Regions from separate parts of the Homo sapiens genome. Here regions 1 and 2 are each linked to region 3. The links are contacts of gene promoters, found by promoter capture Hi-C in human tissues and cell types (Jung and others, 2019). All regions are on one chromosome and are shown on one strand. The core of a region is centred on a gene start or on the middle of the fragment in contact, and the rest is flanking DNA. Distances in the headings are between cores, read along the strand shown.

Region 1 (3,377 bases), core at 734-3,233, 370 kb before region 3:
ATTTGACTGCAGGTGTGCCCAGTACTCTGGGAACTCCTAGCCATCAAAAAGCAAATAAAGACCCTTAAAAGCATCCTTGCTCCCACCTCACTGTTGTTTCTCGCTGTTTGCCTGCTTATCTTTACTTTGCCCCTGACTGTGGACAGAATCACCCCTTAAGCTTGCTTAGTTTCATTCTTTATCTCCCTGACTGAGGGCAGGAGAAGGAAAATGAAGTTCAGGGTCTAGAAGCTTCCACTTTATGACACTGCCGTGGAGAGCTTTGGGGAACCTATTTAAATACTGGAGGTCAGTGCTCTTTGCCCTTTGATGATGCTCCTATTTCAGAATCTGCCTGTCAGGATGTGACCAGCTGCCTGTAAATGGACCGAAGCCGTTGAGGGGGGTTTTGGGGTTCATGTCCCCTGTTGTGCACAAGTGCACGCACACACACACATGCATCATTTAATACTTCTTGGGTAATCCACAGTTCCATTGAAACATTCCGGACATAAACAGACATTAAGACTAGTGGTCTTTTAATTTACTTAAGAGCTAAATGAGTATGGGTTAATCAATAATTCTAGCCATAGCACATGAGATCTCCGCATTGAGTTACAACTTCCTGAGACTGCTTAAGGATGTGTGTAAGCAAGTCACTGGGCTCAGTTTTTAGGGAGTTATTGATAAAAAGGACTTTCTTTGAAAGATAATTTTAGATATTTCCAAGGATTATTGTGATATCCAGTTCATAACTATCCAGTTTTACTTTCTTTTCTCCTGCCTTTTGGGCAATGGCTCAGCTTTGACATTTAAGGGGAGTGTGTGGCTCTGCTAGGTTAAGTGGGACATTGCTGGGGTGGGTGGCAGGGTGTACAGGCAGGCACACGGCCCCTTATGCATGGGAAAAGCTGGGCAGTGTTTCAGCTCATTCTCCTCTTAGCAGAACTGAGATTAGCACCTGCTTTCTTTGTGGTTCAAGTGTTCCAAGATAAGGAAAATTGGGAGTATCCAATTTTTCCATTCTGGAAAAGCAATCTTCAACCTTTTTTTTGTGACTTTTAAAATCAATGAAAGATTTTTGATCAAGTAAGTTTTGAAAACCTACTGAATTATAATGCCATTATTATTTATGCAATACTACTGTTTTTAGTACAGTAGCTGACGCTTGAGCATTTCCAGGATGCCCAGCACTATGCTAAATGCCCTGCAGTCATCATTACATTTAACTCTCACATCACCCCGTAAAGCAGGCACTGCTGTTACCCAAATTTTACAGATGAGGAAACCAGTGGTTGGAGAAGTGATATAAGTTGCTAAAGGTCATGCAGCCTGTCGGACACAATAAGTTGGAGAAGGGATTAAAGCTCAGGCAAGTGATCTTGAGCAGTATGCTGTAATGCCTCCCCTTAGAAAAACAGAAACGACAAACAGATGAAGCTGTGTGTGTGTGTGTGTGTGTGTGTGTGTGTGTGTGTTTCAGTGAGAGAGAGAGAGAGAGAGAGAGAGAGAGAGAGAGAGAGAGAACGGTGGACCCATTCCAGGGAACAGACTTTGCAAAGTGCCACTCTAGACCTTCTTTGAAGTGGTGTCCTCAGCCTGGCCTTGTGAAGATGCCCTTGCCTTCTCTCCCAGCATGAAGCTGGCCTCTCCATCTCCCACCCTGCCAAATTTGCCAGGTCCCAGAACACAACAGCTCTTTGTCATTCTCTACTTTCTACATCAGCTTGGTCTAGCTACATGAAATCTTGAGATTTGTAGTGTGTTGTTTCAAGTTTCAAAATATTACAAATTTAAATTAAGTTTTAGAAACAAATTTTAAAAACAAGCCAGGAATGGTGGCTCATGCCTGTAATCGCAACACTTTGAGAGGCTGAGGCAGACAGATCACTTGAGGTCAGGAGTTCCAGACCAGCCTGGCCAACATGGTGAAACCCCATCTCTACTAAAAATACAAAACTTAGCTGGGCATGGTGGCATGCACCTGTAATCCCAGCTACTCAGAGGCTGAGGCAGGAGAATCGCTTGAACCCAGGAGGAGGAGGTTGCAGTGAGCCGAGATTGCGCCACTGCGCTCCAGCCTGGGCGACAGAGTGAGATTCCCTCTCAAAAACAAAACAAAGCAAAAAAAAATTCCCTTTGTCTTTCAGATTGCGAGTCAGGGATTCTGTTGAAGTTCTTAAAAATAGAAGGCCAAGAATAAACTGGGGTTTTTTTTCCAGCTCATTTCCTGCATTTTGGTGGACAGAATGCAGTATGTTTTATTGTTATTAATTTTATTTTGGTTTTATCTAGTGTCTAAGTTTCTTGGTGGAATCTTTTGCCTTCTTTGTATACATTCCTTAATTTTCTTTGAAGGCTTCAGAATTTGCCTTCTGTCTCAGCCACTTTAAGGTTCTGTATCCTTAGGCAAGTTACTTAACCTCTCTGAGACTCACTTCTGTCAAGTCGAAAGTAGGTAGAACCTCTCAGGGTTTGCAGGAGTTGTAAGTGAGTTAACTTGTGTAAGAGGAATGGAACAGAGGAGGTGCTCAACAAATGTGAGCTCCCCAGCCTTCTCATTGCTTTCCCTCTGTGTGTAGGAAACCACAGCTGTGGTGGATGTCCTCACTGCTCATTATAAATCATTGCTTAGTAGAAGGAAAAAGAATAAAAAGAAAGCATTTTTGATCAATTTTTGGGTAAATGCATTCATGAATTCAATAACAACATATTGAGCAGTTGCCATGACAAGGAAGAAACACTAGCAGATGTCAGGTAAGCCATCATTCTTTCCATAAGAATAACAGATCATGACCATGAGCAGTCATAAGTGCAATGTGGTGGGTAAGCTCTGGCCACTATGGGACACACAGAAGGAGTGTTACCCAGTTTGGGGGGCCCTAGAAGGTCTTTGGAAGTGATGTTTCAGTTGAGAACTGAAGGATGAGTAGGGCTCAGTCAGGCCTCACCAATCTTGCCCATTCAAAATAATCTGAGAGTTGGATCTTGAGTAATTTTTATGAGTTGCATTTTCTCTTGTGCTTTAAGAGCTGACCTCCAAACTCCATTGTAAGATGATACCATTTGGGTTGATTTTAGGGCTGTGTCTAAATGGGAGAAGATTGAAGGGGGAAACTTTACAATATCTGAAGCTAAGAATATATCTATGAACGAGGGGCGTGTCAGGAAGGTGAGTTGGACTGAAAATCAGACTTCTGGTCTGTCTTTCTTTGGGTCTACCAGATGCACAACCCATCTTTTGATGTGTATGGGTGACAGTTGCAAATAGTTCATTTATTTAGCCAACCATGTGCCAGTTAACGTGCATGCCCTTGGGATAGATATAGAGATGCATATGACAGACCTCTGACCTCAAGAAGCTCAGAACTAGGGACCAAGGGGCCTAAAAATCTTAG
Region 2 (3,490 bases), core at 293-2,792, 340 kb after region 3:
AGTACTTTCTAGTATAAGTTTGCCCCACCTATAAGTATGCCTGAAATTCAAATTCCACTGGGTAGCCTGCATTTTTATTTGCTGAATCTGGCAACCTTAATAGTATACCCATTCTGCCATGTCCCTGAATCATCTGTATATTTCATATGGAGAGTGAGAAGCTTATGAAAACTAGAGTTGGAAAAAGCAGAAGAGGCAGACACTTCCACAAATAATTCTGAAGGCCCTTGCAGGTAGCAGGTAACCCTTACACCACAGAGATTCTCAACCAGGTGGAGCTTTTAAAATGCTGTTGGTCAGACCCAATCTCTAAGGACAGGGTGGACTTATCCATTAGGCATAGCACACACAGTGCCAAGGGCCCATAATATTTTAACTGGCCCACGAGAAAAAAATCAGAATAAAAAATGAATATAACTCAGCCTGGATTATGTCTTCATACTAACATAATCATAAAATATATTTATTTTTAATTTTTATGGAGGAAGGGGCCTGTATTAATTTGTTTTCACACTGCTGTAAAGATACTACCCAAGAGTGGGTAATTTATAAACAAAGGAGGTTTAATTGACTCACAGTTCCACATGGCCAGGAGGCCTCAGGAAACTTACAATCACGGTGGAAGGGGAAGTAGGCATGTCTTACATGGCAGCAGGCAAGAGAGAGTGAAGGGGGAAGAGCCCTTTAAAACAACCTCAGATCTCGTGAGAACTCACTCACTATCATGAGAACAGCATGGGGGAAACCACCTCCATGATTCAATCACCTCTTACCAGGTCTCTCCCTCAACACCTGGGGATTACAATTTGAGATGAGATTTGAGTGGGGACATAAAGCCAAACCATACCAGAACCCAAAAAATCAAAGTGCCTAGAGCCCACAGAAGTTATAATTCCACACTGCCCAGAGATTTGGATTTAAAGGACACATCACCTCATGTGCACAATTTTCACTTTTTGTTTAGTTATGACTGGAATTTCCACGGAAAAAATAAAAATAAGTCTGGTCTCCTGAGGAAATATTAAAAACCAAGCACTCAAAAAGGCCGTAACTTGATTTGTTCTTTCTAATTGTAGAAAAATTATTCTCCTAGATTGGAATGTTCATTTTATAAAAATTCCCAAGGGGCTAGTATATGTTTTTACTGCCATCACCACTGAAAATGTCTAGGGTCATTTCAGACATAAAAGAGGCAGGCTCCTATGGCTCATACCCCACTGCTTCAGCAGTAGGTCTGCATGTGTCTAAATGCTCTTCAAGCACAGGATCACGTTCTGTTCATTGACCATGCCAGGCATTTGATAATTGTGGTTAGTTAGTTACATGCTGGTTTTAGGTGTCCTGTCTGGCCTTTAATCCCAAATGCATAACATATTTACTTATTTCGATTTCACTTTCTTCACTAATTCTCTTTCAGACTCCTCCCAACATGGATCATTTGGAAGTGAGGTGCTAATCTGGAAGGATTTTTGCTTTGGAGAACAGAAAAATGTTGTCAATATCATGTGTTTCCCATTCCTTATCAGTCCACCAAATATATGTGCTGCCTCAGCAGCTGAGGAACGAGCAGGGTCAAATAGGGCAGGATGAAGAACTGCCCCTCTGTTCTCTTCGATGTCCAACACCTTTCAACAGAAAGCAGCGGTGCAACTAATTGAGCCGGTGTAATGTAAGTTAGCTTCACCACCAACAAGCCAAACCCACATCTTGCCAGTGGTAGAAAGCCCAGCCTGGGAATGCTTGAACTCTGAATCAAAAGAACAATGATATAATGATATATTTCCTCCAGAAAAGGACACTGGCTAATAACAGAATCGAAAGCCATGTGCCACTATATTAGACTGGATCTTGTACCAGTATTGGCGGCCAAAATGCAAACTGCTCAGTGAAAAAGTTATTCTAGACTTTGAAAGAAATAATTAGCACTGGACAGCCTTGCTCCTTTGAAAAAGCCAGGAGAGAGTATGCTGGGGTCAACCTTCACATGCAGACTGTATAAAATTATGGATCATTATTGCTACTATATAGCCTCTTGCTTTCCGAAGGATTTTTTACTGCTGAAGGAATTACATAATCTACAATCTAGCTTATGGTATGTGGGACACAAAGCCTTTTGTCACTGACTTTTATTTCATTGCTTAGCCATGGTGTTAATGAGGCAAAGATCACAGCTTTTATTGACAGATGGGCCTCATTGCTCTGAGGTATTCTTCAGCCAAATCTGCTGCAACTGTAATTGATCAATTGATTCTACCATCAATATTTATTGAGTCCCTACTATGTGCAAATCAGTGTGTTATGTGATGCAGGTACTGCAAAGCCAAATGAAACAAACAGAAATCCGAGATCATTTTTGTCCTCACAGTCTAGTAGGGGAGACAGATGCAGTCACAAATAGCTATACTACAAAGCAAATTACACTAAGCACAATAATAGAAGCACAAAGTGTAGTGGGAAATCAGAGGAGAAAGATTAATTCCAACCCATGAGGATGTGAATGGATCACCACAAATTTATCACCACCCTGGGAATAACAACTTACCACATATGTTATAATAACAGTGGGTTAGGATTGCTATTTTAAAACACAAATGAAAAATATATTGTAATTAGATGAAATTTGACAACAAAACAGAGCCAACCAACCAGACGTCTAAAATACTAAAAGACAAATAATGATTTGAGCTTTTTCATTTTCCTTAGGATTCACTAGCTGTTTATTCCTGTAAGGTGTGAACCATGAAATTTTTTTTAATGTGTTCTAGGGGTTATAAGACCTAACTGCATATGTTACATCCCAGGACAAATAAGTGCATTCCCTTGGTGGTGATTAGCTCCTGCCTTTTTCCATTTGAATCTGTGGCTTTAGCAAGGTCAGCTGTTCAACCTAAAGCTTTAGTTTCCAAACTCACCTTGCCAGCTTCTGTCTGCAAGCGTGTAAACATCAGGACTGAAAATGCTTTCTGTGTGTCTTCTTGGTGTGCAATGTACTCCTTCCATCAAAGCCACCAAGAGATTTGAAAGTAGGTAGAGACAAAGAGCAAAGGCTGCAAGGCTTATGTAGGAAAGAATTGGAGTATGCACAGCCAAGAAGTTCAAGTCACTGAAAGATTTGTAGTCTGGCTCAAGCTTCACTAAGAAGTTATTTGTCCTTAAAACATTGCCATATTTCCTAGTCCAAGGTGCTGAAATTGCAAGCAGAGGTCTAGATAATACCTTCAGAATAATTGATTTCATTGACAATATAATACATGTTCTCCACCTACACCCTGAACGCTTGAATGACCAACCACAGGACATTGCCACAGACATTGCCTTTTCTTCACAAAGAGTTGAGAAATCATTTCACATAAATGCCTTATACTCAACTCTCCCACCCTTCCTCAATTTTTATTTTAAATTAATCTGTCAAATAATACGATGCTTCCTATGTAGTAGGTATCATTCTAAGCCCTTTATATCCAACAACCTATGAGATAAGAATAGAATC
Region 3 (3,528 bases), core at 173-2,672:
TATGTAAATTGATGTCACAATACACAGGGATTGTTAATGACAAAGGTCACCTTCTCTTTTGAGAACAGGAACTGAAAGGGGGAAGGAACTGGGTGCCAGAAAAGGGACCCCACTATATTGCAGAAAGGCAGGCACACCAGCGGAGCTGAAACACATTAGTTGGTTCAGTGTGTGGTCAGAAGCTGGTCTGGATTTTTTGTCTTTTCTCTTATCATTGAGCGGTTTTCTCAGTTGGATGTGAGAATATGCGGTTTAAATTATGGGAAGAAAATTCCTCTCAACTTTAAGATTGGATGCTGTGAGTCAATATAAGGTAGAAGCCAACGTTTGGCTGCTTGTACCACTCTCTAGCTGGGTGAACTTGGGACAGTTATCTGTTCTCTCAAAAATTTAGTTTTCAAATCTGTTAAATGGGGGAAGATAGTGGCTCTTCTCCAGGGTTGTTGAGAGTATTACCCATAGAATGTGCATGGAGTCCCGAGCCCAGGTCCTACACACTGATATTTTCGTGAGTGTGAGGGACCTTCTTGGATCTTTCAGTCCTCCATTTGTGATTATATGTCTATCTAAATTGATCTATCAGAATTATCTCTTTATCCCATCTCTGGCCTTCTCTGAAGCTGGTAATGAGATGAGAATAGTTCAAGACAAAAACCAACCCATTTCTAAATCTTGGGAACATAATAGAACTGATTCTCAGAAGCGAGTTGACACTTAGCTTACCATACGGTATTCTGAAGAATATCCCCCAAAGTAATCAGGTCTTGATTTACTGGATGGAATAAAAGGGTAGAAGGTTGTATCCACAGCCTATGTGGTATCTCGTTAATGCACCCTCTGGCTATGTAAAATACATATTCATTGTCAAACCTCTTTTTAACCAGAGGATTGAATTCAGGTCAAAAAGTACCGTCTTTTAAAATCAGATTTGTTCATTTAGAAAACCTAAATTGGCAGTATTCCTGGAGGAGAGACTGACTTAAAGTAGGGCATGGAGAATGTGTTTTGAGAAGCATACTTTCTGTACTTTCCCCAGCCTTGGAAGATAAACCTCTCTATCCTGTGTGAATATGCAGATACACCAACTTCATCTTGAAACTTTGCAAATGAGTTTGTGAGGGTTCAGTCTTTTACAGAACTCCATTCCCTCCCTTGGAAGAATGACTTGAAAGTGGTAACTTTTTCTGCTGTCCACTCGGCCCCAGCTTAGCCTTGCTCCATAAAGCACAACCCCGTGCCACCAGCTACAGCCTTCTTTGTCCCAGTAACTGACTGGAAACTTGCTTTTCTCACCACAAAAGTTCTTGGAGTAAAAATCTGAAGCACTTACCAATCAGCGCAGATGCAGGGAAGCGAAGGCGAGAGACAGGGAGGGCGTGTGTGCTCACCGAGGCTGGGCCTGGCTCCTCTGCGGCAGTGGCTGCTGCTGGCCGGCTCCAGCTCCTCTTATCTAGGGACCAGCTGCTGCTGTTGCCATGGGGATGCTCTGTTTCACAGGCACCAGGGCAAGGGGGATGGAGAAGGAAAGAGGACTAACATCTCCATCGCTGCTCTCCACGGCAATCATTGTACATTACAAAAGTACAGTATAGAGTCGTGCTTTGAGTTTCCGGTGTGCACACCAGAGAAATTCAGACAAACCAGCTACATCATTGAATTCCCATGCGATAGATTTTTTTTGGCCTGATTTTGTAAATATGGAAACTGAGGCACAAGAAGTTAAGTGATATGCCCAAGAGAGGCCACAGCTAATTTCGACTCTCAAAGCTATTTAAGTTTAAATCCAGAGTACTTTCAATCACTATTGCTGCTTCTCAAAGTACTATCATGAGGAGGAAGAGAAGGGTAGCTACTGCTAACATTTATGTAAGGCTACCAAAATGCCAGACACTCTTCTAGAGACTTCACACATATCTACTTACTTAACCCTCAGGCCAACCTTGTGAGATGAGCTACAGTCATCATCCCATTTTATTGATGAGGAAGCTGGGGCTCAAGAGTTACCAAATCATCTGACCAAGGTCTCCCCACATGGTGAAGCTAGGGTTTGAATGGGGTAATGAAATGCTAGGGTCCACGCTTGTAACCACTTTGCAATACCTCTCAGCAAAGAGAGCATTTCAAACAGCACATAGCAAAGAAAGCAGCCCCCAACTCTATAGGTTATAGTGTGCAGGCCAGAAAAAATTTCCTCCTTCAAAGGAACAAAGCCAAATGTACCAATATTAGGAATACGTAGGCACTCAAGAGTGGATGTTTAAGCAAGGTGGGAGAGGCGGGAGACATGCTGTCTTTTGGAGAGGAAGGTTCTATGTTTTGGGTCTGCTCACTGGAGGAGAGCCCACTGGGGTTTGGAGGAGCAGCAGTTTTGACTCCAAAGCAGGAAGGCCAGTCTGGGAGATCAGGTAGGTATCAGGACCCACTAGAAGGGCTCCAGACCCCCTGATAGCAGCCAATGGACCACCCAGTGATGCCCAAGAAATATGTTCTCACAGAAGATACGTGAGCACCATCCACACATCCATATTTTTTCCAGTCTTACCTGAGGTTCCCTGCAGAGCAGGTCCCTGGCAACCCCTTGGTTTCAACTGCCTGCTTGCCACTGGCAATGTGTTTGTTGGTGCCTCCCTCCCACTTGCCAGGATCCCAAATAACAGGGCTAGAACCATAGTAAACTCACCAAGAGGTTGACTCCTAGGGTTAGACTTTTGCCATGGTAACAGATAAGCAGAGAATGGACTTCTTTGCCTGTTCCATTTTGTGTTGATCCTTATTGGGACCTCCTGGGAAGAGATGAGGGTTGCTGAAAGGTGATGCTCTTGTCTAGGAAGGGAAGGCCCTAGATGTTGAGGGACAGGGCCTAGAAGCAGGTCTGTGTTCAAAACTGCCTGCTTTATCTTCTTCATTTTTTAAATTTTATTTTATTTTCAGTGCTGGGACACATGTGCAGGACGTGCAGGTTTGTTACATAGGTAAACGTGTGCCATGGTGGTTTGCTGGACCTATCAACCCATCACCTAGGCATTAAACCCTGCCTTACTTTATCTTCTTAACAACAGCCTTGTTGGCCAATGAGTTAGCAGCATCTTCAGTCCACACTTGAGTGGAAAAGATATACTTTCCTTCTGAAATCCTTGAATTCTTCTTTTGAATTAAACTGTTTTGAGGTAATAGATCTACATGTCGTTGTGAGGGATAATACAGGGAGATCTCCTATACGTAAGCAGTTATATCCAATGGTAACATCTTATGAAACTATCCTACAATATCAAAACCAGTATGTTGATATTTACATGAATATATACAGAACATTTCTGTCACCACAAGCCTCCCTTATCTTGCCGTTATATAGCCATGCCCCCCTCCGTTCCTTCCTAACCTCCTGCTCCCAATCACTTTTTAAACTCGGCAACCATGAATCTATTCTCCATTTCTATAATTTTGTCAATTCAAGAATGTTTTAATAATGGAATAATACAGTAGGTAGCCTTTTGGGTTTGGCTTTTTTTTTTTCACTCAGCATTATTC

What was found. Contacts are between HindIII fragments. The study calls those that stand out against the background at their distance.
Region 1: a contact is called between a fragment that was not itself captured here and the fragment with the promoter of PPP1R17 in region 3, in 1 of the 25 tissues and cell types used here (mesendoderm cells).
Region 2: a fragment that was not itself captured here is called in contact with the fragment with the promoter of PPP1R17 in region 3 in 6 of the 25 tissues and cell types used here (H1 embryonic stem cells, mesenchymal stem cells, mesendoderm cells and 3 more).

What each region holds. Positions count from the first base shown.
Region 1 is chr7:32,054,449-32,057,825 of GRCh38, reverse strand. All of the region lies in intron 1 of PDE1C (phosphodiesterase 1C), which reads left to right. Among named protein-coding and RNA genes, the nearest start is that of PDE1C, 14 kb to the left of the region's middle. The HindIII fragment of the contact is 3,574 bases long and covers 197-3,377 here.
Region 2 is chr7:31,349,761-31,353,250 of GRCh38, reverse strand. No RefSeq gene overlaps it. Among named protein-coding and RNA genes, the nearest start is that of NEUROD6, 11 kb to the right of the region's middle. The HindIII fragment of the contact is 4,699 bases long and covers 1-3,490 here.
Region 3 is chr7:31,685,109-31,688,636 of GRCh38, reverse strand. It overlaps PPP1R17 (protein phosphatase 1 regulatory subunit 17), which reads right to left and starts at 1,422. Exons shown (of 5, transcript NM_006658.5): 1 at 1,331-1,422. It also overlaps a transcript of PDE1C not described here. The HindIII fragment of the contact is 11,578 bases long and covers 1-3,528 here.